Linked DNA regions of Homo sapiens: all the other regions are linked to region 5. The links are contacts of gene promoters, found by promoter capture Hi-C in blood cells and fetal thymus (Javierre and others, 2016). All regions are on one chromosome and are shown on one strand. The core of a region is centred on a gene start or on the middle of the fragment in contact, and the rest is flanking DNA. Distances in the headings are between cores, read along the strand shown.

The links. The method cuts DNA at HindIII sites, captures the fragments that hold promoters and counts their contacts. A CHiCAGO score of 5 or more calls a contact.
Region 1: the fragment with the promoter of BEX4 here is called in contact with the fragment with the promoter of SLC25A53 in region 5 in 8 of 17 cell types (monocytes, total B cells, M0 macrophages and 5 more); the score reaches 10.6 in monocytes.
Region 2: a fragment that was not itself captured here is called in contact with the fragment with the promoter of SLC25A53 in region 5 in 1 of 17 cell types (total B cells); the score reaches 7.2 in total B cells.
Region 3: a fragment that was not itself captured here is called in contact with the fragment with the promoter of SLC25A53 in region 5 in 1 of 17 cell types (naive CD4 T cells); the score reaches 5.5 in naive CD4 T cells.
Region 4: a contact is called between a fragment that was not itself captured here and the fragment with the promoter of SLC25A53 in region 5, in 5 of 17 cell types (total B cells, naive CD8 T cells, fetal thymus and 2 more). The highest score is 8.2, in total B cells.
Region 6: a fragment that was not itself captured here is called in contact with the fragment with the promoter of SLC25A53 in region 5 in 2 of 17 cell types (fetal thymus and naive CD4 T cells); the score reaches 5.4 in fetal thymus.
Region 7: a contact is called between the fragment with the promoter of BEX2 here and the fragment with the promoter of SLC25A53 in region 5, in 3 of 17 cell types (activated CD4 T cells, total CD4 T cells and fetal thymus). The highest score is 10.4, in activated CD4 T cells.

The regions. Positions count from the first base shown.
Region 1 is chrX:103,213,096-103,216,791 of GRCh38, forward strand. It overlaps BEX4 (brain expressed X-linked 4), which reads left to right and starts at 2,013. Exons shown (of 3, transcript NM_001080425.4): 1 at 2,013-2,143; 2 at 2,587-2,669; 3 at 3,054-3,696. The coding sequence starts at 3,059. The coding sequence ends at 3,421. The HindIII fragment of the contact is 8,756 bases long and covers 1-2,372 here.
Region 2 is chrX:103,521,762-103,525,659 of GRCh38, forward strand. No RefSeq gene overlaps it. Among named protein-coding and RNA genes, the nearest start is that of RAB40A, 4.2 kb to the left of the region's middle. The HindIII fragment of the contact is 1,025 bases long and covers 1,270-2,294 here.
Region 3 is chrX:104,909,039-104,912,976 of GRCh38, forward strand. All of the region lies in intron 2 of IL1RAPL2 (interleukin 1 receptor accessory protein like 2), which reads left to right. Among named protein-coding and RNA genes, the nearest start is that of TEX13A, 310 kb to the right of the region's middle. The HindIII fragment of the contact is 716 bases long and covers 2,079-2,794 here.
Region 4 is chrX:103,547,910-103,552,108 of GRCh38, forward strand. The region is part of intron 1 of LINC02589 (long intergenic non-protein coding RNA 2589); the gene reads right to left. Among named protein-coding and RNA genes, the nearest start is that of LINC02589, 4.9 kb to the right of the region's middle. The HindIII fragment of the contact is 5,054 bases long and covers 1-3,949 here.
Region 5 is chrX:104,155,188-104,159,255 of GRCh38, forward strand. It overlaps SLC25A53 (solute carrier family 25 member 53), which reads right to left and starts at 1,822. Exons shown (of 2, transcript NM_001012755.5): 1 at 1,691-1,822. It also overlaps a transcript of FAM199X not described here. RefSeq lists an enhancer at 1,596-1,895. The HindIII fragment of the contact is 6,927 bases long and covers 1-2,032 here.
Region 6 is chrX:103,478,508-103,482,528 of GRCh38, forward strand. All of the region lies in intron 4 of LL0XNC01-250H12.3 (a long non-coding RNA gene), which reads left to right. Among named protein-coding and RNA genes, the nearest start is that of RAB40A, 39 kb to the right of the region's middle. The HindIII fragment of the contact is 607 bases long and covers 1,063-1,669 here.
Region 7 is chrX:103,308,147-103,312,424 of GRCh38, forward strand. BEX2 (brain expressed X-linked 2) reads right to left here and starts at 2,844. Exons shown (of 3, transcript NM_032621.4): 1 at 2,714-2,844; 2 at 2,212-2,287; 3 at 1,200-1,835. The coding sequence starts at 1,830. The coding sequence ends at 1,444. RefSeq lists a silencer at 2,580-2,669. The HindIII fragment of the contact is 10,238 bases long and covers 2,481-4,278 here.

The DNA of each region.
Region 1 (3,696 bases), core at 763-3,262, 940 kb before region 5:
CTACCTCAGCCCCCCAAATTGCTGGGATTACAGGCCTGAGCCATACAACTCACATTTTACCTCTTCTCCAGGGAATTGTTCTCTGCCAAATGGGAGCCACCTTGCTCCAGAGACTATGCTCTGCTCCACCTACAGACTTTGATCTGTGACTGACGCTGAGCTACAAAAAGCCAGTGACTTACTGTCAACGTGGGATGACTTGTGTGTGCTTCAGAGTTTTCAGGTGCGATTAACTAAACTTAATCTCTAGTTAAACCCCATTCTTCATCACTGCCCTGCTCCCCAGCCCTGTCCTGCTGCCTTTACTTCCTTTAACCTGAGAGAGCATTACAAGAAACTACATTCATAAGGATCTCTGTTCCAAGTTCTGCTTCTAGGGAGCCCGACCTAAAATAGGAAGGGTCTCTTTATAGAAATATTTCAGCTAAAATCCCAAAAAGAGGAAAACAGAAAGAGTCTTTGCTTTCCCTTGGACAAACTTGAATTGAAATTGAACCCAAATTCCAGGATGCTTTTCTAGAATTAGTTACCATCTTATAGGAACCACAGAGTAAAGAGATAATGTGTTAATGACACCACTGAGATCCAGACTGTAGGAAAATACAGAACAAATGACTATTTCATCAATAATTAAAGAAAAAATTAAAAAATGAAAACCCACAGATTAAAAGAAATTTAGGAAATTTGGCAACCAATCAAAATGCGCATATCTTATTTGTATCTTGATTCAAACAAACTGTTAAAAAAAACTATAATACAATTGGGTATTTGAACACAGATTAGACATAAAATGATATTAAGGAATTGTGAATTATTAAATGTGACAACAGTATTGTGGTTATATGCTAAAAAGAAGAAAACCCTTATCTTGTAGATACATACTTTGAAATATTTATGCCTAAAGTGATATTATGTCTAGAATTTGCTTCAGAAATAATTTTAAGGTTGGGAAGCGGGTAAGATAAAGACGAAATAAGATTGGCCATGAGTTGTTAACTGTGGAATCTGAGTGAGGACTAGTACATGGGGTTTGCATTATACTATTCCATTTTTCCAAATGTTCGAAATTTTCCATTAAAGTTAAGATAAAGTTAAACTATAAAGACTGTTTCTTAAACAAAAAAGGGGCCGGGCGCTCACGCCTGTAATCCCAGCACTTTGGGAGGCCGAGGCGGGCGGATCACGAGGTCAGGAAATCCAGACCATCCTGGCTAACACGGTGAAACCCCGTCTCTACTAAAAATACAAAAAATTAGCCGGGCGTGGTGGCGGGCGCCTGTAGTCCCAGCTACTCGGGAGGCTGAGGCAGGAGAATGGCGTGAGCCCGGGAGGCGGAGCTTGCAGTGAGCCGAGATCGCGCCACTGCACTCCAGCCTGGGCGACAGAGCGAGACTCTGCCCCACCCCCCAAAAAAAGGAACAGAACAGAAAGGTATTAAGAAGAATTAGAAAAAAAATCCACTGTCCTTGACTCATTTCCTGTCCCCCCCCAAACGTTCTGGTGTGGAGAAAAGGATGAGCATTGGTAACAAGTACCACAGTTTGCCATTGGGGTGGGCGGGACTGATGCTCTCTTTATTTAAATTTTTGACATCTTGCTCATCATAAATTTTCTTGCAATAATTGTTTTTTAAAATGTTGCATTAAAATGTTATTTTTCTTGACTGCTGAGGAATTTTGCACCCCTTTAAATTCTGCGCCCGCGTCCTGGTTGGGAGATGTGGGGAAAATCCTGGGAGCCCAGGACAGGGAGAGGCAAGTCCCCACAGAAGTGGGAATGGCCAACAGCTCCCTGAGAAGACAGCTTCCCTCTTGGGGAGGCAGAGGAAGTCCCAAGAATACACAAAGACAGGAGAGTGGAAGGGCCGGCCAGTCTGGAGATACTAAAAGAGACTCCGGATGAGGATAGGGGCTGACCCGAAAGCCCCGCCTGACTCCGGGCTGCAGGAGGGGGCGTGGGACGGGGGCGGAGCCGTTGGCGATGACAACAGCCCCACGTGACCGGCCAACACTGAGTGTTGTCTCGCTCTGGCGTCAGAGCCGTCGTGGCTCGTTCCATTCTCGGCGGTGGTACCTGCTCCCGGTGGCCCTGAGGACGTGTGGGCCAGGGGCGGCCCCGAAATTAGGAAGCGGAGGGGGAGCAGGTAAGGAACCCGGCGGGGGGTCCCTGGGGTTGGTGTGAGGGAGTGGCTCCGGCCTGCGGATGCCCACCCCGGGGGAGCCGTGCGGAGAAGCAATCGGTCCGCGATGCAGCCCCCGGGCCCCGCGGCGGGCCCGCGAGCCTTCCTTGAGCGGAGAGGTGCCCGGCCCGGAGGGAGCCGGCGGTCCTGGGGCTACGACCCTTCGGAAACACCTGCCTACGCCATCAGCGCAAGCTTTTCCGACACCCCTGCCCCGCACTTCTTGGTGCAGAAAATGGTGGTCAGCTTGCGGGGCGGGGCGGCTGAGGCGGGGGGCGAGGGTGGCGAGGAGGGCCAGGGCCAGGGCCAGGGCCAGGGCCTCGGGGCGGGGCGGGGGAGGGGCCGGATGGCGGTAGTTCCTAGCTAGCGTTCTGCTGCAGCAGCCCCCACTTCCCCCACCCCGGCAGTCTGCAGGTCTGCGGGGCTAAGTGTCGCGGCGGCGCACCTCGCGTCAAGAATCCGGAGGAGGAGACTGCAAGGATAGGCCCAGGTCGGTGCGAGGGTCGGTGGTGAGGCGGGGGCCGGAACGTGAGGAAAGCCCAGTCTGAGACCCTAATCCATGCCTTCACCCTCGCCCCCCTCTACCCCATGCAACCCTCCCCTTCCCACACGCCATCCTCGTCCTCCATTTTGCTGCCTGCGGAAGCCTGGAGATGGATCTACAGGGAAAATGGTGGGCTTTGCGGAAGGGAGGGGCTCGGATTGAGGGCACCCCACAGGGCATACTGGCTTCTCAGGTGGAAAAAAATGAAATGTTAGAGTATAAAGTCAAGTCCAGGGCTCTGAATTTTAAAAGGTGCCTAGTAGGGCCTCTGTCCTCAGTGCTTATCAGTCCACCAAGAATTCAGCCCATTTTCTCTCTCTTGTCTCCTAGGAGTAATGGAGTCCAAAGAGGAACTAGCGGCAAACAATCTCAACGGGGAAAATGCCCAACAAGAAAACGAAGGAGGGGAGCAGGCCCCCACGCAGAATGAAGAAGAATCCCGCCATTTGGGAGGGGGTGAAGGCCAGAAGCCTGGAGGAAATATCAGGCGGGGGCGAGTTAGGCGACTTGTCCCTAATTTTCGATGGGCCATACCTAATAGGCATATTGAGCACAATGAAGCGAGAGATGATGTAGAAAGGTTTGTAGGGCAGATGATGGAAATCAAGAGAAAGACTAGGGAACAGCAGATGAGGCACTATATGCGCTTCCAAACTCCTGAACCTGACAACCATTATGACTTTTGCCTCATACCTTGAATCCTAAAAGTTTTCGCTGAGGTTAATGTGAACACTGCTTTACAAGCTTGTATTTTTGTGATTTACTTTTTCTGTAAGCCTTTTGGGGTTTACACTTACCAGTTTCTAATGGAAATTAGAATTCTAATTGAATATTGTTTTGTCTCAGCCTAAAAGTTACGGTCAGCATGGCAATTCACCTATTTTAGGAAAAATACTCTTTTCATAATATGAAATGCATAAAGCAGTTCAAAAAGCAGTCTGTATTCCATCATCTTCCTTTTTCATTCCAGTCC
Region 2 (3,898 bases), core at 532-3,031, 630 kb before region 5:
GCATCTGCTTCTGGAGAGGCCTCAGGGAGCTTTAACTCATGGCGAAAGGTAAAGCGGAAGCAGGCGTTTTACATGGCAGGGAAGGTGCTACACACTTGTAAACAACCAGATCTTATGAGAATTCTATTATGAGAACAGAACCAAAGGGAGAAATCCACTCTCACGATCCAATCACCTCCCACCAGTCCTCATATCCAACATTGGGGATTACAATTTGACATGAGATTTGGGTAGGGACACAGTTCCAAACCATATCAACTATGAAGTACAACTTTGATAAAGAACAAAATTAGAAGACAAACACTACCTGATTTCAAGACTCCTTACAAACATACAGTAATCCAGACAGTGTGCTATTGGCATCAAGATGGATTAGTAGATCAAAGGAACAGAATAAAGAGTCCAGCTATAGACCCACAAGTATATGGACAACTGAGTTTGACAAAGATGCAATGGTGATTCAGTGGAGAAAGGATTATTGTTTCAACAAATGGTGCTGGGACAAGTGAATATTGACATGCACAAATATAAACTGTGACTCAGATATCACACTATATACAAAAGTCTATTCAAAATGGACCTGAGATCTAAATATAAAATTTGATGCTATAAAACTTCTAGCAGAAAAAAAAAAAACAGGAGAAAATCTTTTTGACAATGGGTCAGGTGAAGATTTCATAGATGAGACAACAAAACCACAATCTATAAGCAAAGAAATTGAAAAATTGGACTTCCTCAAAGTTAAAAACTTTAGCTTTCCAACTACATGGTTGAAAAAATAGACAAGTAAGCTGCTGACCGGGGTAAAATGTTTGAAAATTATATATTTAATAAAGGACTTGTATCCAGAATATGTTTAAAATCTTAGTAAGAAGAAAACACACACCAGTAAAGAAACAGGCAAAATATTTGAATAGACATTCCACTAAAGAAGACATACAAATATCATGTAAGCACAGGAAATGATGCTCAGCATCACTCGTTATAAGGGAAATGTAAATGAAAATTTCAATGAGATCCTACTAAACTCCTGTGAGAATTAAAAAAATTAAAAAGACAGATTATACCAAGCTCTGTCGAGGTTGTGGAGGATGAAACAGTGATACATTACTGGTGGTAATGAAAAATGGTACAAACACTTGGAAACAGGCAGTTTCTTACAATGTTAATCTTACATCTACCACATGATCCAGCCATTGCACTCCTAAGTATTTATTAGAGAAAGAAAGCCTATTTCCATGGAAAGACTTATTCACAAATATTCATAGAAGCTTTGTTTACAAGAGATCCTAATTGGAAATAATTAAAATATCCAACAACAGGTGAATGGATAAAAAATTTATGATATAGCCATATACTGGAATACTATTCAGCAATAAAAAAGAATGAACTATTGATATGTGCAACAAAATGGATACATCTAAAAATAAATTGGGTGAATGAAAGAAGCCAAACCAAAAATCAAAAACAAACGCAGAAAAACATTTCTACAATTCCATTTAAATAAATGTCTAGGACATAAAACTTAATCTATAGTGACAAAGTATTGTGTTTGTCTGGGGACAGGGCAATAGGAGGGATAGAGAGTCCTAGTAGTACAGAACTGAAAATCTTATGTTCTGGGAAACAATGATAATAATATTTAGGCCTAGCTGGTTATTTTAGGGGACATGACTGGGTATCATTATAATAGAGCAAATTATATGGAAATTATTATTTTTCAAAATATTGAACTTTTGTATCTGACATTTTGACAGTTTTAACTAATACTTTGTACATTTTTGCCTTCTTAAAAAATGTATTACAGAATGGATAATAACATGGTTACCATTGAAAAATGCATATTACAATCTCCAGTTGCTTGGAAGACCTTCTGACCAACTGTGTATTTCAATGCCCATCTGAGAGATACATGGGAATCACTGATCATTATTTATACAGGCAGAAAACATATGTAAATTTATTTCAAATACATGTTAAACATCAAGTTGATTCCCCAAATGAATTATTCATTGCTTTGTAACAACGAAAGGCATTTTAAACATGGGCCTCAAGGGCGGCTTCAAAGCACATAGCTGCTGATGAAAGGAAATTCCACATGCTAAACCTCTTCTCCAAAGATGGGATCAAAGGAGTTTCTCTGCTTTTAGACTATATTATAAACCTCACAGAGGTATTCCACAACATGCTTCTGTCCAGATCTATGAGCTCACTTGAGCCAGGCATCATATCCCACCAGGGATGGAAGTGTTGGGGGTCTCCTTAGGACTGCTGCCCTTCAAATCTGAAGTAGAAGCTTCAGCAGCCATCACGACCCAGATCCTCAAAGCCCATCTCCTTCATACACCTGTTATGAGTTCAATAACCTGATGAAGATCTGCACAGGGACAGAGAGAATCCAGCAATCACTGTGCTTTCTTAGAGTAACAGTGTGCCAGGAACCATCTTAGGCACTGGGTCAGTGACCAGTGACACTGATACAATTGGGTAGTGATCATTACAACCAGAAGATACAATGGGTTTCTCACCAGGGCCTTTTTCTCCTCCTTTCCTCCTCTATCTCCTAACAACAAATCTGTAAAGGACTAAGAAGAGGCCTGAATTCACACAGGCATTCCTGATCGTGCAGTAACCACAGGGCTATGGGCTTGCACCTGTGTTATCACTGCAGCTTGCAGCAATCCTGCGGGTTGGCATAATTATCCCCATTTTACAGAGGGGGACACTGGGCTCAGAGAGTCCTTACTTGTCTCATCCTCCCACGTCCCACCTTTACATAGAAAGTAGCTCCAGGACACCAGGAGCAGGACACCCCACTCACTGGGGCCAGGAGGGTCCTAGCTCTCTCCCTCATGAAACAGTGAGAGCAACTTGTTTCAAACTGGGAGTGAGGGGACTTAGATCTGGGATCCCTTCGTCTCCCCACATCCCAAGGCACTTCAGCCCCCACTGTGGGGCACTCACACCCTCAGTTGAGTCCCAAACACCTGAAGGCGGGACCCTGCTATTCTCACCAGCCCACAGGGGTCTCTATTAAAAGTCATCAAGGTCACAGTAATGACTTCTGGTTTCTATGGCAACCGTGGTGCTCAGGCTTGTCCTCCACATCAGAAATGCTTCTGCACAGCCCTCTGTCCCCTTGCCTTTCTCAAATAAATAAATAAATAAATAAATAAATAAATAAATAAATAAATAAATAAATAAAAACTTCACTCTTCCACTCTTCAGGCTACCTCCTGAGAAAGCTTACTAATTAGTGGAACTAGCCTCAGACAAGGGTGATTTGTGGAATTCTGCCCAGCTTGGTGAAACAAAGCATCTCCCCATTGGCAGGAATATTGTCTGCTTTAAAAGTGACAGTAGTTGAGTATCATCACTACACAGAGCTGCAGGGAGGTATCCTAGGGGCTCCTGGTGATGAGCTAACCTTCTGAGGATGATGTGTAAAACTTACACAACACACTAAGCAGTTAGCTATCTGTGGCAGAAGACTAAGAGACTGTCTATAATCATGTGTGTAAATGATGTAGGAACACCAAGAAATGTCATTTAAGATATCTCAGTTATTTCAGGGAGGCAGGCCTATAATAATGTAATCATTTAGTAGGCAGAAATCTAGTCAATTGAAACATACATTGGCTCATTTTGGGGAATTCTTATCCACCATTCTTAATATTTTCTTCCATGTGGAGAGACATCGATACCCAAAACACTTCTAGCCTCTTGATACGCTCACTCCTCTATCGCAGGAATGTCTCATCTAGTTGGTGGGTTTGGAAGGAGAAACAGGTTGCACAGCCCAGGTCCTCTCCCTTCAAAACTCTTGGTTGTAATCTTCACTTAACCAAGCATATGTTCTGCTCTGCCCTCAGGGGTGGGGCTTACAATAGGTCCACAG
Region 3 (3,938 bases), core at 1,187-3,686, 750 kb after region 5:
ATTTCTTTTTATTCTTTTTTCTCTAAACTTCCCTTCTCGCTTCATTTCATTCATTTCGTCTTCCATCACTGATACCCTTTCTTCCAGTTGATCGCATTGGCTCCTGAGGCTTCTGCATTATTCTCGTAGTTCTCGAGCCTTGGTTTTCAGCTCCATCAGCTCCTTTAAGCACTTCTCTGTATTGTTTATTCTAGTTATACATTCTTCTAAATTTTTTTCAAAGTTTTCAACATCTTTGCCTTTGGTTTGAATGTCCTCCCGTAGCTCAGAGTAATTTGATCGTCTGAAGCCTTCTTCTCTCAGCTCGTCAAAGTCATTCTCTGTCCAGCTTTGTTCCGTTGCTGGTGAGGAATTGCGTTCCTTTGGAGGAGGAGAGGTGCTCTGCTTTTTAGAGTTTCCAGTTTTTCTGTTCTGTTTTTTCCCCATCTTTGTGGTTTTATCTACTTTTGGTCTTCTATGATGGTGATGTACAGATGGGTTTTTGGTGTGGATGTCCTTTCTGTTTGTTAGTTTTCCTTCTAACAGACAGGACCCTCAGCTGCAGGTCTGTTGGAGTCCCCTTGCCGTGTGAGGTGTCAGTGTGCTCCTGTTGGGGGGTGCCTCCCAGTTAGGCTGCTCGGGGGTCAGGGGTCAGGCACCCACTTGAGGAGGCAGTCTGCCCCTTCTCAGATCTCCAGCTGCTTACTGGGAGAACCACTGCTCTCTTCAAAGCTGTCAGACAGGGACATTTAAGTCTGCAGAGGTTACTGCTGTCTTTTTGTTTGTCTGTGCCCTGCCCCTAGAGGTGGAGCCTACAGAGGCAGGCAGGCAGGCAGGCCTCCTTGAGCTGTGGTGGGCTCCACCCAGTTCGAGCTTCCTGGCTGCTTTGTTTACCTAAGCAAGCCTGGGTAATGGTGGGCGCCCCTCCGCCAGCCTCGCTGACGCCTTGCAGTTTGATCTCAGACTGCTGTGCTAGCAATCAGCGAGACTCCGTGGTTGTAGGACCCTCCGAGCCAGGTGGGGAATATAATCTCATGCTGCACCATTTTTTAAGCCTGTCGGAAAAGCGCAGTATTCGGTTGGGAGTGGCCTGATTTTCCAGGTGCCGTCCGTCACCCCTGTCTTTGACTAGGAAAGGGAACTCCCTGACCCCTTGCGCTTCCCGAGTGAGGCAATGCCTCGCCATGCTTCGGCTCGCTCACGGTGCGCGCACCCACTGACCTGCGCCCACTGTCTGGCACTCTCTTGTGAGACGAACCCGGTGCCTAGGATGGAAATGCAGAAATCACCTGTCTTCTGCGTTGCTCGTGCTGGGAACTGTAGACTGGAGCTGTTCCTATTCGTCCATCTTGGCTCCTCTCTAAATTATTCTTTAAGTTCTGTGGTACATGTGCAGAATGTGCAGGTTTATTACATAGGTATACACATGGCATGGTGGCTTGCTGCACCCATCAACCTATCATCTACATTAGGTATTTCTTCTAATGCTATCCCTCCCCTAGCCCCCTGTCCCCTGACAGGCACCAGTGTGTGATGTTCCCCTCCCTGTGTCCATGTGTTCTCTTCCTAATGTATTTTAAATACCTGAGTTTCCTTTTTGTGTATGGTCAGTACAGCAAACTTGAATTTCTAGAACCTGATATAGTGGTGTCTTGAGGTTTTTGTTTCTCTTTTGTTCCTAATAGTTTTTAAAAATTTTGTAGCTCTCTTCACTCCCACAGCACTCTACATATTCACGTGCACACCTAATTCATGAGCTCTCTATACAGAAAGAAATAATGGGAATGACTGGGAACATGCTATTAAATGGATATATTTTCAGATCTTCCTTAAATCATTTTCTTTGCAGCCTTCTACTTCTAAGACCGTATCATGAGGCTTATTGACACAAGGGAGAAAAAGACACATGCAAGTAATATTAGGAATGAAAAGGTAATATGATAGATATAACAGAGATTTGAATAAATCAGAAGAGATTAATATGAAGCAACCAACTTTATGCCAATAAAATAGAAAACAAATGATATGGACATATTAATAGAATGTATAATTGATCAACATTATCTCAAGAAAAATTAGAAAACCTTCATAAACCAATAAGCTTAAGCATATTGAATTGGTAATAAAAATTATCAACCTCCCATCTCCCGCCCAAAGACTCCAGGCTTATGTGATTAGATGATTTTATTGGAAAATTTTCTCTAACTGTCAAGAATTAAATGTTCCAAATTACATTAACAATTTCAGAAAAGGGAAAAAAGCTACTTAATTTACTTTATGAGACTAGCATAACCATCATAAAACCAGGAAAAGGCAGAATCTGAAAAGTATAGGCCAATCCTATTTATAACATAGGTGAAAATGTCTGAAACAAGAACCATTAGACAATTATTACTCAGGTACAAGCCCCAAGAGTCATCTTTCTTTCCTGTTTTCCTGCTTATACTCAATATCTAGTGAGTGAGGTCCTGTTGACTCTGCCTCTTAAACATATCTCAAATCTGTTCAATCTTCTTTGTCTTCACTACCACCATAGGCAAGTGAACAAATATCTCTTCCTGCAGTGGTCTCTGTTCACTCTCCACTCTTGCTCTTACTGCAGTACTTTTAAAATGTAAATCAGATGATGTCGTTCCTGCATCAAAATTCTCTAAATATTTTCCATGATGTATAGAATAGAATCCAAACCTCTCACCCTGGTCTACAAGTCCCTGCACTATCTGACATACAGCTTCATCACCATCTCTTGCTACTCTGCTCCTTGCTCACTGCACTGTAGACATACTGATCTTCTTCCTGTTATTTGAAGAGACCAAGCTTGTTGCCACCTCAGAGAATTTATATTTTCTGTTCCTTCTGTCTGAATTACTCTCCTGTAAGTGTTTGCAAATAAATCTTCTCCGTATTCAGGCCTTCACTCAAATATCGCTTTCTCAGAGAGGCCTTCCCTAGTACATCTCCCTGTTTCTTCATTTACTCTTCTTCCTACCTTTTACTCTGTATCCCATTAACCTTCTTATTTTGCTTCATAGTGCTTATCAGTATCCTCCAATAATCATTTTCAGATATTTTAGAAATGCATTGTCCTTCTATCTTTTATCAGCTGCAGGTGGACAGGGATTTTTTTTTTTCTTTTTTTCCTTTGTTTTGTTTTGTTTTGTTTTGTTTTGTTTTGCTGTATTTCTAACACCTAGAAGGCTGGGGAGGCACTAAATATATATTGCATGAATAAATCTAATGTAAACTTCCTTAAGTCACAGATGAGAAAACTGAAGCCCAGGGAAGGAATGTGACTTGATCAAGATTACTTGCCCACCTGGGAATAGAATCCTTTCTCCTGAGTTACAGTATGGTGCCCTTTCTGCTATACCACATGTTTTTATGTGCCTCTAGCCCCATAATTCTAGTTTCAAAAGGCAATCCCATCCTCTCCCTGGTGGACTAGTATAAGTATTAATTTATAGAGATGTTTATGAAGCATACTGCAGGCAAATCAATATGATAATGAGAGTTAGATATTGATACTATATTATTTTGTAGCTTTCCAATAGTGACTGTTTCATTTCAGGATTGCTTTCCTTTCAGAGGTAGGAAAAATACTTATTTTTAATGTGTGTGTCTATCAGCAAATATGGTAAAGCATGTTAAGGCCAAGCATGCTGAGCTGATGACATTAACTTATCCTAAATAAGTCTCACATGAGCCAACTGGTTCAGATTAAAGCCCCTTATTCACCATGATGCAAAGTACTTTTACAATAAAACAAAAACAAAACAAGAGATCACATAGCAAGGGTGTGTGTGCATACATGCCTATGTGCTGCAAGTTAATAAGTACATTGTGTAAGTACCATGAGACTGTGACTGTGCCAGTGGAGATACAAAAGAAGTAGCAGGCATAATCCTTATCATCAAGGATCTTACAAAATATAGTCTTGAAATTACTAGAAAATAGTTCTG
Region 4 (4,199 bases), core at 173-2,672, 610 kb before region 5:
ACCATGCAATAGGAAAAAAAAAAAAAACCCAAACAACTCAATAAAAAATAGCAAAGAACCTGAATTGGTACTTTCCAAAGAAGATATAAAAATGGCCAACAGTATAGTGTAGGAAAAGGTGCTCAATATCACTAATCATAAGGAAATGCAAATCAAAATCACAGTGAGATATCACCACACAGCTGTAAGGATGGCTATTATCAAAAAGACAAGAGGTAACAGGTGTTACCAAGTATGTAAAGAAAAGGGAACTTTTGTACACTGTTGCTGGGAAAGTAACTTGGTACAGCCATTATGGAAAACAGTATGGAGATTCTTCAAAAAATTAAAAATTGAACTACCATACAATACAGCAATCCCATTTCAAGGTATATATTCAAAGGAAATGAAATCAGTATCTTGAAGGAATATCTGCATTCCCATGTTCATTACAGCATTACTCAAAATAGCCAAAATATGGAATAAACGTAACTGTTTATCAGTGAATGAATGGATATAAAAAATGTGGTGTGTGTGTGTGTATATATAATATGTCACATAATATATACATATATATATTATTCGGCCATAAACAAGAAGGAAATACCGCCATTTGCAACAACATGGATGAACCTAGAAGACATTAGCAGTGAAATAAGTCAGACACAGAAAGAAAAATATTGCATGATCTCACTTACATGTAAAATCTTAAAAGGTCAAACTCATAGAAGCTGAATAGAGCAGTGGTTGCCAGAGGCTAGAAAGTCAGGGAAATAGGAAGGTGTTGATCAAAGGGCATAAATTTTCAGTTTTAAGATGAACAAGTTCTGGGAATCTAGAATAAAGCATGAGTGGTGATGGATGTGTTATAATTTGATTGTGATAATCATTACATAATGTATAGGTATGTCAAATCTTCACATTGTACAACTTAAATATGTAGAATCTTTGTTAATGAAATATTTTTTAAAAAATAAAGTTTAATAATATTATCACTACTTGGTGTTACATTTCCAGATATTCTCTCTGGTAATCATGCTATTATGCTTTTGTTTTTGTTTTTGTTTTTGTTTTTGTTTTTGAGACAGAGTCTCATTCTGTCAACTAGGCTGGAGTGCAGTGGCATGATATTGGCTCACTGCAACCTCTGCCTCCCAGGTTCAAGCAATCTTCCCACCTCAACCTTCCAAGTAGCTTGGATTACAGGAGTGCACCACCATGTCTGGCTAATTGGGTTTTGTTGTTGTTGTTGTTGTATTTTTAGTAGAGTTGGGGCTTCACCATGTTGGCCAGGCTGGTCTCGAACTCCTGACCTCAGGTGATCTACCCACCTCAGCCTCCCAAAGTGCTGGGATTACAGGCATGAGCCACTGTGCTACTATGTTAATGTCAGTAGCATTACAATGACAGAATGAAGGCAAGTGGGAATGGACAACTAAAATTTGTTTAAGGCCTACTAGATGCTACACATGTGGTAGGTTGTAATTTTCAGACTTTCACTCTTCAAATCATCAGAGCAATGCTCTGAGGTTGGCATCCTTTTTACCTATGGGGAGATAGGCTCAGAGAGCAAAATACATGCTCCAGGAATTCTAGGAAGGCATCAAATGGACTGAGGTCAACTTGAGGGGCTTCCACTGGCCAATTCTGGAATAATTTGAGCATCAAATAAATATTTATAATAACAAATGTTATATCTTTGAGCAAAACAGGAATCTATGAATCACAGTAATATAAATAAATAGCTGGGTGTGGTGGCTCACACCTGTAATCCCAGCACTTTGGGAGGCCGAGACAGGTGGATCACCTGCAGTCAGTAGTTCGAGACCAGCCTGGCCAACATGGGGAAACCCCGTCTCTACTAAACATACAAAAATTCACTGGGCATGGTGGCGGGTGCTTGTAATCCCAGCTACTCAGGAGGCTGAGGCAGGAGAATAATTTGAACCTAGGAGGCGGAGGTTGCAGTGAGCCAAGATCGCGCCATTGCACTCCAGCCTGGGCGACAAGAGCGAAACTCTGTCTCAAAAAAAAAAAAAAAAAAAAAAACCATATATATCTAACAGTCAAATGTCAATTAATAAATCTAAACAAAGTGACAGAATTATAAAAGCAACCCTGACAACTATCACAGTAGTAAATGATTCAAGCAAGAATCGTAAATAGATTTTCATTCTGCACCAAATCCCATAGCAATCACTGAGTCACCATGGTAACCATGCTGGCCAGGGAAAGCTGGGAGGAAAAAACAAAACAAAACAAAAAACCAACCACCTCCTCGATCTTATTCCTAACATGTGCTAAGAACTGAATAGGACTGACATGATGCACAGTAATTAACCTCAATTTTTTCTCACAATAAACATTCCCGGCAGCTTCAGCAATATACACCTTCATACATACCTAGATACCCACATACATACATGCTCTCTCCCTCTTTTTCTCATCACCCAAGTATCCAAGAATTCATCAAGGTAGATTTGTTTGGGAGTATAAAAAGAAAACTCCACAATTAAAATCTACCCACACACAAAGTCAAGAGCTACAAAACTATTTTATTTTAGTAATTCATTTTTCTGGAGATGATCTTTAGAAAAATGTCTCAGTGACATTTTCTCCCTGGTTTCAGTATATTACCAATGACTTATAAAAGCTGATAGTGGAAACACTGGCAAATGTATGCTGTGATGACTAATTTTATGTGTCAACTTGGCTGGGTCATAATGCCCAGATATTTGGTCAAACGTTATTTTGGATGTTTCTGTGAGGGTGTTTTTGGATGAAATTTACATTTAAATTGGCAGACTAAGTAAAGCAGATTGCCCTCCCCAGTGTGGGTGGGCCTCATCCAGTCAGCTGGAGTCCTAAATAGAATAAAAAGCTGATATCCTCCAAAGAAGAGGGAATTCTGCCAGCTCACTCTTCAGATTTCATCTGTAATATTGGCTCTTCCTGGTTTATCAGTACACCGCCTTTGGACTTTAACTTCAACTCTTTCCTGAGTCTGAAGCCTGCTGGACTCCCCCATCAAATTTTGGACTCACCAAGCGTCCAAAATCACATACACCAGTTCCTTAAAATAAATATCTTTATATGTATATATATAAAGATACATATATAAAGATATATGGATATATAGATATCTTATTGGTTCTATTTCTCTGGAGAACCTTGACTAATACAGACATTAAGTATTAAGCATCTTTTCTATCCTAGAGTAGCCTGTGCTTTCAACCAAAAAGGTTCCCCAGCAGCTAGTATTAAACACTCAGCTTCTGACAATTCAGTAAAAATATAATACATTGAAATTGCAATTGAAAATACTACCATTAGGCCAGGCATGGTGGCTCATGCCTATAATACCGGCACTTTGGGAGGCCAAGGTGGGAGGATTGCTTGGGACCAGGAGTTTGGGACCCACCTGGACAACAAAGCAAGACCCTACCTCTATTAAAAAAATTTTTTTTAATTTTTTAATTAGCCAGGCATGGTGGCATGCACTTGTGGTCCCACCTGCTCGGTAGGCTGAGATGGGTGGATCACTTGAGCCCAGAAGCCCAAAGCTATAGTGAGCTGTGATCATACCACTGCACTCTAGCCTAAAAAAAGAAATACTGCCATTTATAATAGCATCAAAAAGTGTAAAATACCTGAGGATAATCTGTCCACATGTGTGCAAGGCCTGTACATTGAACACCACAAAACATTGAGGAGAGAAGTTAAAGAAGACCTAAATAAATGGAGAGAAATGCCATCATCATGAGTCAGAACACTCAGTATTGTTAAGATATCTACTCTCCTCAAACTGATGTATAGATTCTATGCAACTCCAATAGAAATGTTAGCATATATTTTTAAGAAGAAATCAATAAACTTATTCCAGAAATCATGTGGAAATGCAAATGACCCTAAACTATGAAAAACAACATTGTAAAAGAACAAAGTTGGAGGAAAAACACTACCTAATTTAAGCTTCATTATAAACTTACATTAACCAAAACAGTGCACTATTGCCTTCAAGGAAGAAATGTATATCAAAGGAACAAAGTATAGAGTCCAGAAATAGACCCACAAATATAAGGACAACTGATTTTTGACAACAATGCAAAGACAATTCAGTGCAGAAAGATCATCCTTTCAACAACTTGTGCTGGAACAGGTAGATAACAAAAATAAGCTTTTATCTATACACCACATCATAAAAAACTCAAAGTGGATCA
Region 5 (4,068 bases), core at 572-3,071:
TCACTCTGTTGCCCAGGCTGGAGTGCAGTGGCGCAATCTTGGCTCACTGCAACCTCTGCCTCCCGGGTTCTAAGAGATTCCAGGAGATATTCTTTCCAATTTATTGTCAGCTCCGTTTAGACCTATAGTTCTCCAAGTATGGCCCCATGTCCAGGAGTATCAGCATCTCCTGGGAACTAGTTAGAAATGTAAATTCGGGGGTCCACTCCTGACCAACTGTAGGGGCAACTCTGTGGATGGGACCTAGCAATCTTGGTTTTAAGAAACGCTCCATCTGATTCTGATTCACAGGAAAGTTTGAGAGCCACTGACTTAGACTGCTATACTGTTGTTTCTCTGGTAAACAAAGAGGCTTCTTTTCTTGTTCAGAGAAATATTGCTTAGGATTTCTGGTGGGTGCACAATTCCCTGCTGTGAACCGAGTTTGCTGGAAAACCAAGTAACTAGCACCTCCATCGTAGTCCTACCCAGAGCTTGCAGGCTTTGCACTCACGTAAGACTGATTCTTCCAGAGGCGCCTGGAAGTCCCATTGTGATGGGCAAATGCTCTTACCAGAAATAAACTAGTTGTGGGGACCGGGCGCGGTGGCTCATGCCTGTAATACCAGCACTTTGGGAGGCCGAGGCAGGCGGATCACTTGAGGTCAGGAGTTCGAGGCCAACCTGGCCAACATGGTAAAACCCCGTCTCTACTAAAAATATAAAAATATAAAAATTAGCCGGGAGTGGTGGTGGGTGCCTCTAATCCCAGCAACCCGGGAGGCTGAGGCAGGAGAATCACTTGAACCCGGCAGACGGAGGTTGCAGTGAGCGGAGATCACGCCACTGCATTCCAGCCTGGGCGACAGAAGTAGAGAGACTCCTTATCAAAAAAAAAAAAAAGAAAGAAAGAAAGAAAAAAAAAAAGAAATACACTAATTTTGGGCCTTAAATGCTACTCAGTTCTCCAGTTCACCTCAACAGGGAGGGAAGGTGCTTGGAGGAAAATTGCACTTCGTTTTTGCCCTGCTTATTTTGTCTTCAAAATATATGTTAAATCACCGCATCAAAGAGCCGTCCCAGATCTCAACTCCCAGATGAGTTCGGTGGCACCCAATAGATTTTCATAACACAGGATCTATCTCTGTCTCCTTGTATTGTAATAGCCTGTCTCCAAATGCAGATAGCAACCGGCAGGCTGTAAATGTCGAGGAAAAAGCCTAATTCCTTTCCTCATCCGGAGCCTCTAGTGCAGTACCCAGCACAGAGCAGGTACTTGGTATTTTGGTAAGGGAAATCAATCAACGCATCAATAGCAGAATCTGAAACCAGGGACCTAGATCTTTCCAATAAAATCATCCTGCTGAGATGTGACTCAGATGTACTGGTGCCCAGCAGACAACACGTTTTCGCCCTGATTTTATCCTCCATTCATCCGTCCGCCCCCTCCCCCATAGACCCCGCCTGTCCCCAGCTAAAAATAATGAGGGGATTCACACATCTCAGTGTCAACACACACAACACAGTTGACACGCCCCTTAATCCTACAGCTACGCCATCAATTCTCGCCGCCGGGTCCGTCCGCTTGTCAGTTTCCCCTACTCCTCATCCCCTCGCAACTTCTGATCCCCTATCACTTCCGTTCCCGTTTGCCTGCTAGGCTGGAAGCAGGATGTGTCTACGCCCTCAGCCCATAAGAAGTGCTACAAACCTCCGCCTCGCTCGCTGTCATGGCGGCGACCGACGGCCCCTTTCCTGTGGCCTCAGAAAGCAGCGACAGTCGCAGTCACCGGACCTTCGCCCATCCGCCGCCCTCACTTAAGCGACGCACAACGGAGCTCCCACAATCCTCTTTGCTTCCGCTCTCTTTATTTCCGCCTCCCCCGCCCCCGCCTCGACATTAACCGTTTCGCGACTACGTCAGTTGGCCGGTCTGTTTGGGAGAGCCAGGCGACTAATCTGGTATAGAGACCGAAAAACACAGGTAAAAAGACCTAAAAGACTTAGTCATCTATTGGAACATTTCCCCAGTTTGTTTGTAAGTTGGCTTGCAAGCTTATCAGTCATTCTCAAACAGGAGCTTAACTTACTTAGGTGAACAGTTCATGATGACGCCTTTAAGCTGCTAGACCAACCCAAACTCCGAATTTGCAGTTTCTGACCTTTCACCTTGAACCTGTGCCCTTTCTACCCTCTATTCTCCATCTCCTTTTGGTTCTTGTCTGACTCTTTAGCTGCATATGTAAAGAGCACAGACTTTGAAACCTGAGCTCCCGCGTTCGAATCCCCACTGTACCACTATCTAAACATGGCATCTTGGGCAAGTGATTCAAGCATGCTATTCCTTGGCTTTTTCATCTGTAGAATTGGTATAATAATAGTACTTACCTCCAGAGTTGCAGTAAAAATATTAAAATTTCACATGTGAGGAGCACCTAGAACATTGCCTATCATGAAGTTAAGCAGTATATTGAAATATAAATTATAATGATTGAATTTGATCTCACCTAAGACCTCTGGCTAATAAATAATAAATGATAATAATCATTTCACCTGGGATAGAGGGGATTGCCCTGTTCTCTCCAGGCTGAGGCTGTAATACCTGATTCTAGGGACTGCTGATATGGAAATTACTACCACTCTGGCTGGAGTCAGAAGAGTATATTAAAGAGTCTCTTTGTACTGTCCTAAAATAAGCAAAATCCAACGTTTGCAGTTCTATGGACCACGCACTATGATAAGTGCTTTAAACCCATTTTGTTGTTATTGCTTCATCCTCACAATAGCCCTTTGCTGGTTCTTAAGTGTATTACCCTTTCCTGTCCTCTTTGTCTGCTTAAAGCAGCTAAGAAAACTCAGATTAGTCAGATTGCATATAAATCAATAACTTGCCCACGGTCACAGAGCTAATAACAAATAGAGCCAAGACTTAAACTCAGATACATTCAGATGTGTCTTGGTATTTCTCAAATATCACTGAGAAAAAGGCCACCATAAATTCTTTTCAAGTGCTCTCTCTCCCCCAACTCCCCACCCCAAGAATTGCCTGAATGCCCATACAGAAAGACTAGGTTCTCTTCAGAAGCAGAAGGGCAGAACCCACTAAGGCAAAGATCTCTCCCTTGAAGGCTGGCAGCCAAGGAGGTGACTATAGTAGGAATTGGCATAACCAGCTCACTCATTGCCCTCCACTGTGCCACACAGGCCCCATTACTTCCTATAGTACTGAAGACCACTGGGGATAAAGGTACAGGGCCTTCACCTCATCCCACCGTTCTGTAAAGCTTGGATATTAGCAAAGATCTTGCTTATTTTAGGACAGTACAATGAGACTCTTTAATATACTCATCTGACTCCACCCAGAGTGGTAGTAGTAATTTCCATATCAGCAGTCCCTAGAGTCAGGAATTACTGCCTCAGCCTGGAGAGAACAAACCAATCCCCTCTGTCCCAGGTTAAAACAAAACAGGAATTCCCTCTGTTCCTTCAGAATGTACGGTACCCAGGATGTTGTTATTCTTGCTCCACACCTACCCACTCTCACTTCCCAACTTATCATCAGGCAGTCCACAATGGTTTTTTCAGGGGAAGGATTGGTGATGGTGAAGGGACTGAAGGAGAAGGTAAATCACCAGGTTTGCTGAAGGTAAATGAAGCACTGCCTTGTCCCTACCTCTGTACCTCTTTTGTAGCTCCCTGACCTTCTTTCTCATTTGGCATTTCAGAACCCATCACTCCACACCTAGGAAACCCTCTTGGGTTTGAATTGCAGACAAATCATCTTGTCTTTTATTTTTTCCCCCAACACCCAACGATAGCACACATGTCTGGGCTTGGCCAAATTTAAAAACAAAAATAACAGAGGTAGCACGGAAAGACTTTTTACTTAATTTTCTCCATTATTTCTAGCTGTCAAACTATTAGAAAGTGTCAGTGTAAGGGGTAGAGCTGTGAGAAGTCGAGTTTCAGAGGCGAGGAAAGAGAAAAATCCTGATGCAAAGCAAAAGTGTTGGCAGAGGAAAGACGAGCCAACAAGAGTGTCTCTAGGGCCGGTAGAAATAAACAAATGGTGGAGATTGGTGAGTGGGT
Region 6 (4,021 bases), core at 116-2,615, 680 kb before region 5:
CCAGAGAGCTGCCTTAGACTCTCTAATGAATCTGTTCAAACAGCTGCCTCTGTTACCTTGACTTCTCTCAGATTTTGTCGACCCGAGATGGGTCCTATTGTAAAACTGTGTCTATTATTTTGGCTTGCTCCAGCAAGGGAGAAGCCCACACAAGGCTCCTACTGACCATATGTGTCATTTCTAGCTTTGATGTCTGGGCAACAATTTCCCTAGGTTTAACTATTTGCTCAATGTTAAGGCAGCGCTGTGGAAATTTGTCTGTGTAACTGGGGTGCTATGCAGGCCTGTCTGTGTGACTGTCATGCAGGCCTGCCTATGTGATTGTCAGGGAGAATTGACTTGCCACAATATGATCAAAGTCTTTGGTCATTTAAGTTCAGTTCTGTAGTATTGTCTATAAATATAAGGAAATTATATAGCCTTTCACTAGGTCATGTGTTTGATTTCCTCTTCCTATTTATTTAGTAGTTAGCATGGTTATTGTTTTGTTTCAGTGGTTACTTTTATATTAAATCCTTAACACTACATCCTTGATATGGAATGAAGTCTTACTAATGAATAGAGAAAATAATATTAACAGATAATTCACATTAAAAAACAATTGTATACCCATTAAATTTTCAAAACTATGCCAGATTACAATAACTAAAGGACTGAAAACTAATATCCTAGGCTACCATGCTGAGTGAGAAAGAAAAATTGCTGAAACATACATATAATCTGATAACTTTGGGAAATAATATATATAAATGAGTATTTTGTGTAATACCCCATTCCTGCCTCTTGATAGCTGAATATGACCCTCTAGCAGTGAGTTACCCTTATTGAACCTGACCTTGCTAACCTATAAAATGGGCATAATGACATTTACTTCAGAGAGCCAAGAGGAGGAATGAGCAAACGTAAATAAAGCACATGGTACCTAATACTTCAACAAATATATGTATAATCTCCCTTATGTTCTCCCTCCCACAAGAGATGACTTAAACATCAACATCTCAAAGAGATCAATGGATTTGAACCATCAGAAAAAGAAATGCATACATATTTATATGACGTATAAGCTTTGGTGCTATTTCTTTCTAAGATGAGATACTGAGGATGGTGGAAATAAGGAAGCAAATTATAGCCTCATTACTTTTTATTTGTTGTGTTCTTCTCTTCTTTTTAAACTTCTATTTGGATGCTGAAATAGCAGCTTCCCACTGTGGGCCAGAAAGGAGACAGCACAGAATAACAGAACATGAAGATGGGTCTGCTGTGCAATGGACTGAAATCAGGAGACCTTGGCCCCCAATACCAGATCTGTCCTCGTGTACAGGACCATGGGGAGTCACTTCCCCTGTGTTGGTCTCTGTCCTTACACAGAAAAAGATTGTATACCTAATGGTTAAGGACGTGGGCATTGGCATCAGTAAAGTGAGGAGAAAATTGGGGCACATTTAATTACTGGTTTTATGATGTTTAGGAAATGTTGAGTCTCCAGATAAATGAAACTCATACATTAAATATGACTGCGTAGAGAATAAAACGGGAGGAACTGCACAAAAAAGGATACATTCTTCAAAATTAATGAGCGGTGGGTCGGTACTTAATTCTTTATCTCTTGACTTAACTATGTTTTCCACAATTTCTAAATTAGTATGGTTCTTTTTAAAAGTCAGAAGTAAGCTTCATTGAAACAGTTGTTATGAAATATTTCAGAAATACAAAAATTATAGAATGTAAGAGACATCCCTGTTCTCATGTTGACATACCTAATATTATATATGCAGTTGAAACTCACTTTGAAGACTTCTCTGATTGCAAGCCTCCTTCTTTCTCAGAGGTAACCACTATGCAGAATTCGGGTTTTAGATTTTAAAGACATTTCCCTATACTTTTATTACATATGCATATATCTGTAAGTGAGAATGGTATTGTTTTGTAGCATGTTTTTTCTATAGATGCCTGGCTACCTCATGGAAAAAAAGGAAAAAAAATGAAGAAACATGAGGAGAACAAACACACAATCACATTTCAACAGTGGGAGCTGCATGGCCTCCTTGTCATGTGTACTCTTGCAGACTTACTAAAACAGACATATCCATTTTCTCAGTTTATACGCTATAGGGAGCACAAACAACCTGTAGATACTGTTTTCAAATGCTTTTTCCCAGCGTGTTCAAAGTCTTAGAGTTTCTCTGGAGCTAACTGGCCTAAAACAATGTCTCAGTGTTTCCTGATATGAAACAACTTCCCATTTGTCTGGGCCAAATTATCTGTCTTTCATGCTCACTGTAACCCTTCAAGGCCTAATCCAGAACCTAATCTGGGCTATGCTGGTAAAAGATATGCCAGTCTACCACCCAAATCCCTTATTGGCTTAGGGGTGAATCTTATTTAGAACTTGATCTGATTTTGTGTTAGAATTGTTGGGTTTGTGTATATTTTCCTTCCTTTTCTTCTAATATTTTTAATTGCACAGGGAAGGTATTTCGCAAGTGTTTTAATTCACATGTGCTGATTGTTCCTGCAGTTCTTTGCTGAGTGAGACTGTGACTCAACTTTTACCCCAAACCCAGCTGTGTTAGGATCCTTCCTCTCTGGAAGCTGTGGTGCTGACCCCTGGGTGGTTTCATGCAGTCCCTCCCTCTTTCCCACCCCTGTGGCAGTCACTGCTTGGCTAACTAGGTGGGTAAACAGAGGAGCCTACTCTCCATTCAAGGGGCTTTCTTTGGGAGAGTGCAGAGAGAAGCATGCTGTGAAACTACTTTCATCTTGTGACCATCACTGAAATCCTGGAGAGTGGATTTCTGTGGATACTGACTGCTAAATGTAAGCTTCATTTGAGAGACATGTTGGCCCTTCTCCTAGGTGTCTGTAATTTCCCTGAAGCTGCCCAATTGGGGTTACCATGTGGATAGATTCATACATTAGTTCTGGGACCACCCTACTACTTAATTCCCTTGGCTTAGAGGTGTTCCCCATTCCAAAGCTGAACCGTCTTATGGGGTAGGGCTGGTGATATTTATTTTTTCCGATTATTATTTTCACCTCCAAAACCAAGACACTTTTGTTGTAGATAAAAATGGAAAAGTGAGGAAAGCAAAAAAAAAAAAAAATTAAAAACTAGTAAAAGTCTACTACTTATGGAGAAGCACTGTTAACAGTTGAATATATATACAGTCACGTGTCACTTAATGATGGGGATACATTTTGAGAAATGTGTTGTTAAATTGTTTCAGTGTGGTAATATCATGGAGTGCAGTTATACAAACCTAGCCTTCTACATACTTAGGCTAGATGGTACAGCCTGTTGCTCCCAGGCTACAAACCTGTACAGCATGTTACTATACTGAATACTGTAGACAATTATAACAAAATGGTCAGTATTTGTGTATCTAAACATATCTAAGCAATAATAAACAGTAAAATTATGGTATAAAATATACAAAATGGGGCCAGGTGCAGTGGCTCACACCTGTAATCCCAGCACTTTGGGAGGCCGAGGCAGGTGGATCACATGAGGCCAGGAGTTCGAGACCAGCCTGGCCAACACGGTGAAATGCTGACTCCACTAAAAATACAAAAACTAGCTGGGCATGGTGGCGGGTGCCTGTAATCCTGGCTACTTAGGAGGCTGAGGCATGAGAATCACTTGAGCCAGGGAGATGGAGGTTACAGTGAGCCCAGATCGTGCTACTGTACTCCAGCCTGGGCGAAAGAGTGAGACCCTGTCTCAAAAAAAAAAAAGAAAAGAAAAAGAAAAGAAAGAAAAGATACAAAATGGCACACCTATATAGGGCACTTACCATGAATGGAGCTTGCAGGACTGGAAGTTGCTCTGGGTGAGTGAGTAGTGAATGAAAGTGAAAGTCTAGGACATTACCGTACACTCCTATAGACTATAAACACTGTACAGTTAGGCTATACTAAATTTAATAATAAATTCAATACTAAGTTTACTGTAACCTTTTTACTTTATAATTTTTTAATTTTTTTAACTTTTTGACTCTTTGGTAATAACACTTTGCTTAAA
Region 7 (4,278 bases), core at 1,594-4,093, 850 kb before region 5:
ATAGGCAGTGGGCCAGATTTGGCCCATGGGTTGTTTGCCAACCCCTGTTCTGGAATCCTAACTTTAAGTTTATAAGACTGTCTTCATACATAAAATGTGTGTATTTCATCTAATTAGCACAAACTGAGGGGGATTTTATTTCCCTAGTTCTGCTGGGACACTTAACCCCAATTGTCTTCCCGTAGACTTCTCATAAAGATCTCATTTGTGTATCCATTTATTCACTAAGTGATTTCCTGATGTCCAACTCTGTATAGATAACAAAATTCTGTACATTCATGGATTTCAGGTAAATGTGAGCTGGTATGAGGTGGGACTATCTCAGATTGAAAGTGGGCTGTGTTTCCTCACACATCTTATAGTCTGCTATACTGAGGAGGAGGTTTCCTGGGAGAGAACTACCTGTAAGGAAAGATCTAGACAGACAATGTTTTTCCATGAAACAAAGCAGGGAGAGGGGATTTGTCCACTCTTTTGTAGAGTAGAGCAAGGATTCAATCCACTGGAAATTCCAGAGAAATTGGTGGGACTTTCTCACTTTCAGGATTTCTGAACATCTGCATTGGTAGGAGCCAGTGTAGGGAGCAAAACCTAGCAGAGTAATACCCAGGGGAGATGATGAGAATAGAGCACAGCAGCAGAGGAATGAAAGTACCTACTCCTTAGTCCACTGGACTTGTGAATATAGGGAAGACCTCACCTTGGAAATTTCCTCTAATAACAGAAGGGAATATCTAAAGTGTTGGGTCATGCATGTCAGTAAGAACAAGAACTTGGGAGAAAGCTCACAACCTCATTACCTTATCTGGTCCATACAACAAGCCTGGGAGGTGATTGTCTTCATCTTACTGATAAATATTATTATCTTCAAAGAGATGTGTCTCTTACATTTCTAAAAAGAGAACCCAGAGGCAAGCTAAAATTGAGATTCTGTCACAAGTGTTTAGTAAGTGCTCACATCGCTTTTATAAGGTGGTCACATTGCTTTTTATCAGTAATACGTGTTCCATTTTGAAAAATAAGAAATTATGGGTAAGCAAGAATAAACTCCCTCTTAATTCTACCACAGAGATAAACACTATTTACTATATATATGTGTGTGTGTGTATATATATATATATATATATATATATATATATATATATATATGACTGTTTAGGTGCATGTTTAAGATTTAAAGTAAAAAAGAATGCAGAGAATGCTTTTTAAAACTGTTTTATTAACTTCACAATATATAATGAGCATCTTTCCATGCAATAGGTAAAACTCTCCTGCTGACAGAAACTTACAAACTGGGTCAAAAACAACATTCATTTAGAAGCTGGTAATAGGAGACCCACAAGAAATAGGTAACATCAAAACGTTTACGACAAAGGTACACCACAAATGTGTAAGTTTAGGAAGCAGGGGTCTCCCTATTAACTTCAGGGAAACCATCAGGATTCAGGGCATAAGGCAAAACTCATCGTGATGGTCATGGTGAGGGGGATCAGTGCTGACTGCCCGCAAACTATGACTCAACTGCTTTTCCCTCAGCTTTTCCATCAGCTGTCTCACCTCCTCCCCAATCCTTTCCATATTCTCCTCTCTCATCCTTGCCTGTGGCTCTCCAAGCCTATGCATTATGTCCCATCTATACTGCAGGATGGGCTGCCTAACGCGGAACCGCCTACGGTTTCCTCTAGGCACACAGTATTCACTAACATTCAAAGGTAGGGCCAAGGGCTCCCCTTTATTAGCAACTTGCTCCTTTTCATCTTTTTCATCATTTTCCTGGTTGACATTTTCCACGATGAGATTGTTTAACGCTCGTTCCTCTTTGGACTCCATTACTCCTAGGAGACAGAGAGAAAATGGACTCAATTCTTGGTGAACTGATCAGCACCGAGGACAGAGGCCCGACTACCCACCTTTCAAAATTCAGAGCCCTGGATTTCAAAGGCCTTTTTTAAATTTCATTTTTTTTCCACCAGAGAGGCCCCATGTACCCTCGGGGGGGCGAGGGGAGCCAGTCTGTGCCCTTCTCTCCCGCAAAGCCCACCATCTTCTCTGCAGATCCATCTCCAGGCCTCTGCAGGCACCAAAATGGAGGACGAAGAAGGGGTGGGGGTGGGGGATTGCTAAGTGTGGGGGTGAAGGCACGGATTGGGGTCTCAGACTGGGCTTTCCTCATGTTCTGACCCCCTCCCCACCACCGTCCCTCGCACTGACCTGGGCCTATCCTTGCAGTCTCCTCCTCCCGATTCTCGACGTGAGGTGCGTCGCCGCAACACTTGGCCCCGCAAACCTGCAGACGGCCGGGGTGGGAAGAGTGGGGGCTGCTGCAGCGGAACGCTAGAGAGGACCCGCCGCCACCCGGCCCCTTCCCCACGCCGGGCCCGGGCCCTCCTAGCCGCTCTCGCCCCCCGCCTCAGCCGCCCAGCCCCCCAAGCTGACCACCATTTTCTGCATCAAGAAGGGCGGAGCAGGGGTGTTGGAAAAGCTTGCGCTGGTGACGGAGGCAGGTGCTTCCGAAAGGTCGTAGCCTCAGGATCGCCGGCTCCCGCGGGGCCGGGCACCCCTCCGCTCACACAAGGCTCGCGGTCCCGCGGCGGGGCCCCGGGGCTGCATCGTGGACCGGCTGCGTCTCCGCGCTGCTGCCCGGGGATGGGGCATCCGCAGGCCGGGGCTGCTCCCCCACACCAACCCCAGGGACCCCCTCCGGGTCCCTTACCTGCTCCCCCTCCGCTTCCTACTTTCGGGGCCGTACCTGGCCCGCACGTCCTCAGGGACACCGGGAACAGGTACCACTGCCGAGAAGGGAGCGAGCGACGGCGGTTCTGACGCCACAACGAGGTAAGACTCAGTGTTGGCCGATCACGTGTGGCTGTTGTCATCGCCAGAGGCTCCGCCCCCGTCCCACGCCCCCTCCTGCAGCCCGGAGTCAGGTGGTGCTTTCGGGCCCGCCCCCATCCTCACCGGGAGTCCCTTTTAACATCCCCAGCCTGGGCTCTGCCACTCTTCCTTCTCTGTATATTCTTGAGACTTCCCCTGCTTGCCCAGGAAGGACGGAAGGTATCTTCTCAGGGAGCTGTTGGCCATTCCCACTTCTCTGGGGACTTGCCTCTCTCTGCCCTTGGCTCCCAGGATTCACCTCCTTCTGCCTGTCTACCTCCTTCTGTCCTCCTACCAATATTCTCCGTTTTCTCTCCACTAAAATGAGTGGAAGAGGTGTATCAGGAAAGGAGCACAAGAGAGTAGGCTTTTCTCATTCTTAATACCTTTTCTGTATTATTTCTTTTGTAAAACACAAAAAATTAATATACTTCTTTAAAAAGGAAAAAAAGTTATTTTTACTTGAAAGACGGGATTAAAGTTGGGCAAAATGTCCCAACCACCTGTCCTGTTAAGTCATTATATAAATATAGACTCTACACGCAGCTGCTTTTTTAGAACTTGGAAAAGGACAGGGCAGCTGATGGCTCCCCTTTTGAGGGGCCCCTGGACACATGAGGCCCTTCTATGAAATGAGCTAGTGAGTTGTAGTGCTACAGAACCTTGTTGGGTTTTCATAACTAAAAGGAAAAAAAAGGCCTTTTTCACAAATTTCTGGTTCAAACGATAAGTATGTCTTTATTTAAAGATCAAGTAATCATGTATTTAGGAAATCCAGAGACATCTACGGTAAACCTACTATAGGAGTAAGAATTGATTTTAAGAAGGTTGCAGCTACAAGATAAATATTACAAACGTACTCATAAATTTATTTGAAAATGCAAAGGACCTAGAATAGACAAATAATTTTTTTAAAATATCCTACAAATCTTGAGAGTTACATTATATTATTTCAAGACTTAAGGTGTAATAATAAAGTTAGTGTAGTAGTAAACATAGACCTGTAGATCAATAGAACAGAATAGACTCCAGAAATAGACCCATACGTATGTTGTTAATTAGTTTTTGACAAAGATATCAAAGTAATTCTATATGGAAAGTATAGTCTTTTAAACTAATGGTGCTGAAATAACAGAATTCTTAAAGGAAAAAAAGGAGCCTTGCCTTTTATTTATACTATACACAAATTAATTCAAAATGGATCCTAGGCCTAAATGTAAAAGCTCAAATTAGAAAACTTCTAGAATAAAACATACAGAAAAACTTTACAATCTTTGAGAAAACAATTCCTTAGGACACAAAAAGAACAGATCACAAAAGAAAAAAATAAGAAATTGGATTTATCCAAATTAAAAACTTCTACCATTTAAAACACATGGTTAAGAAAATGAAGTGAGAAGCTGG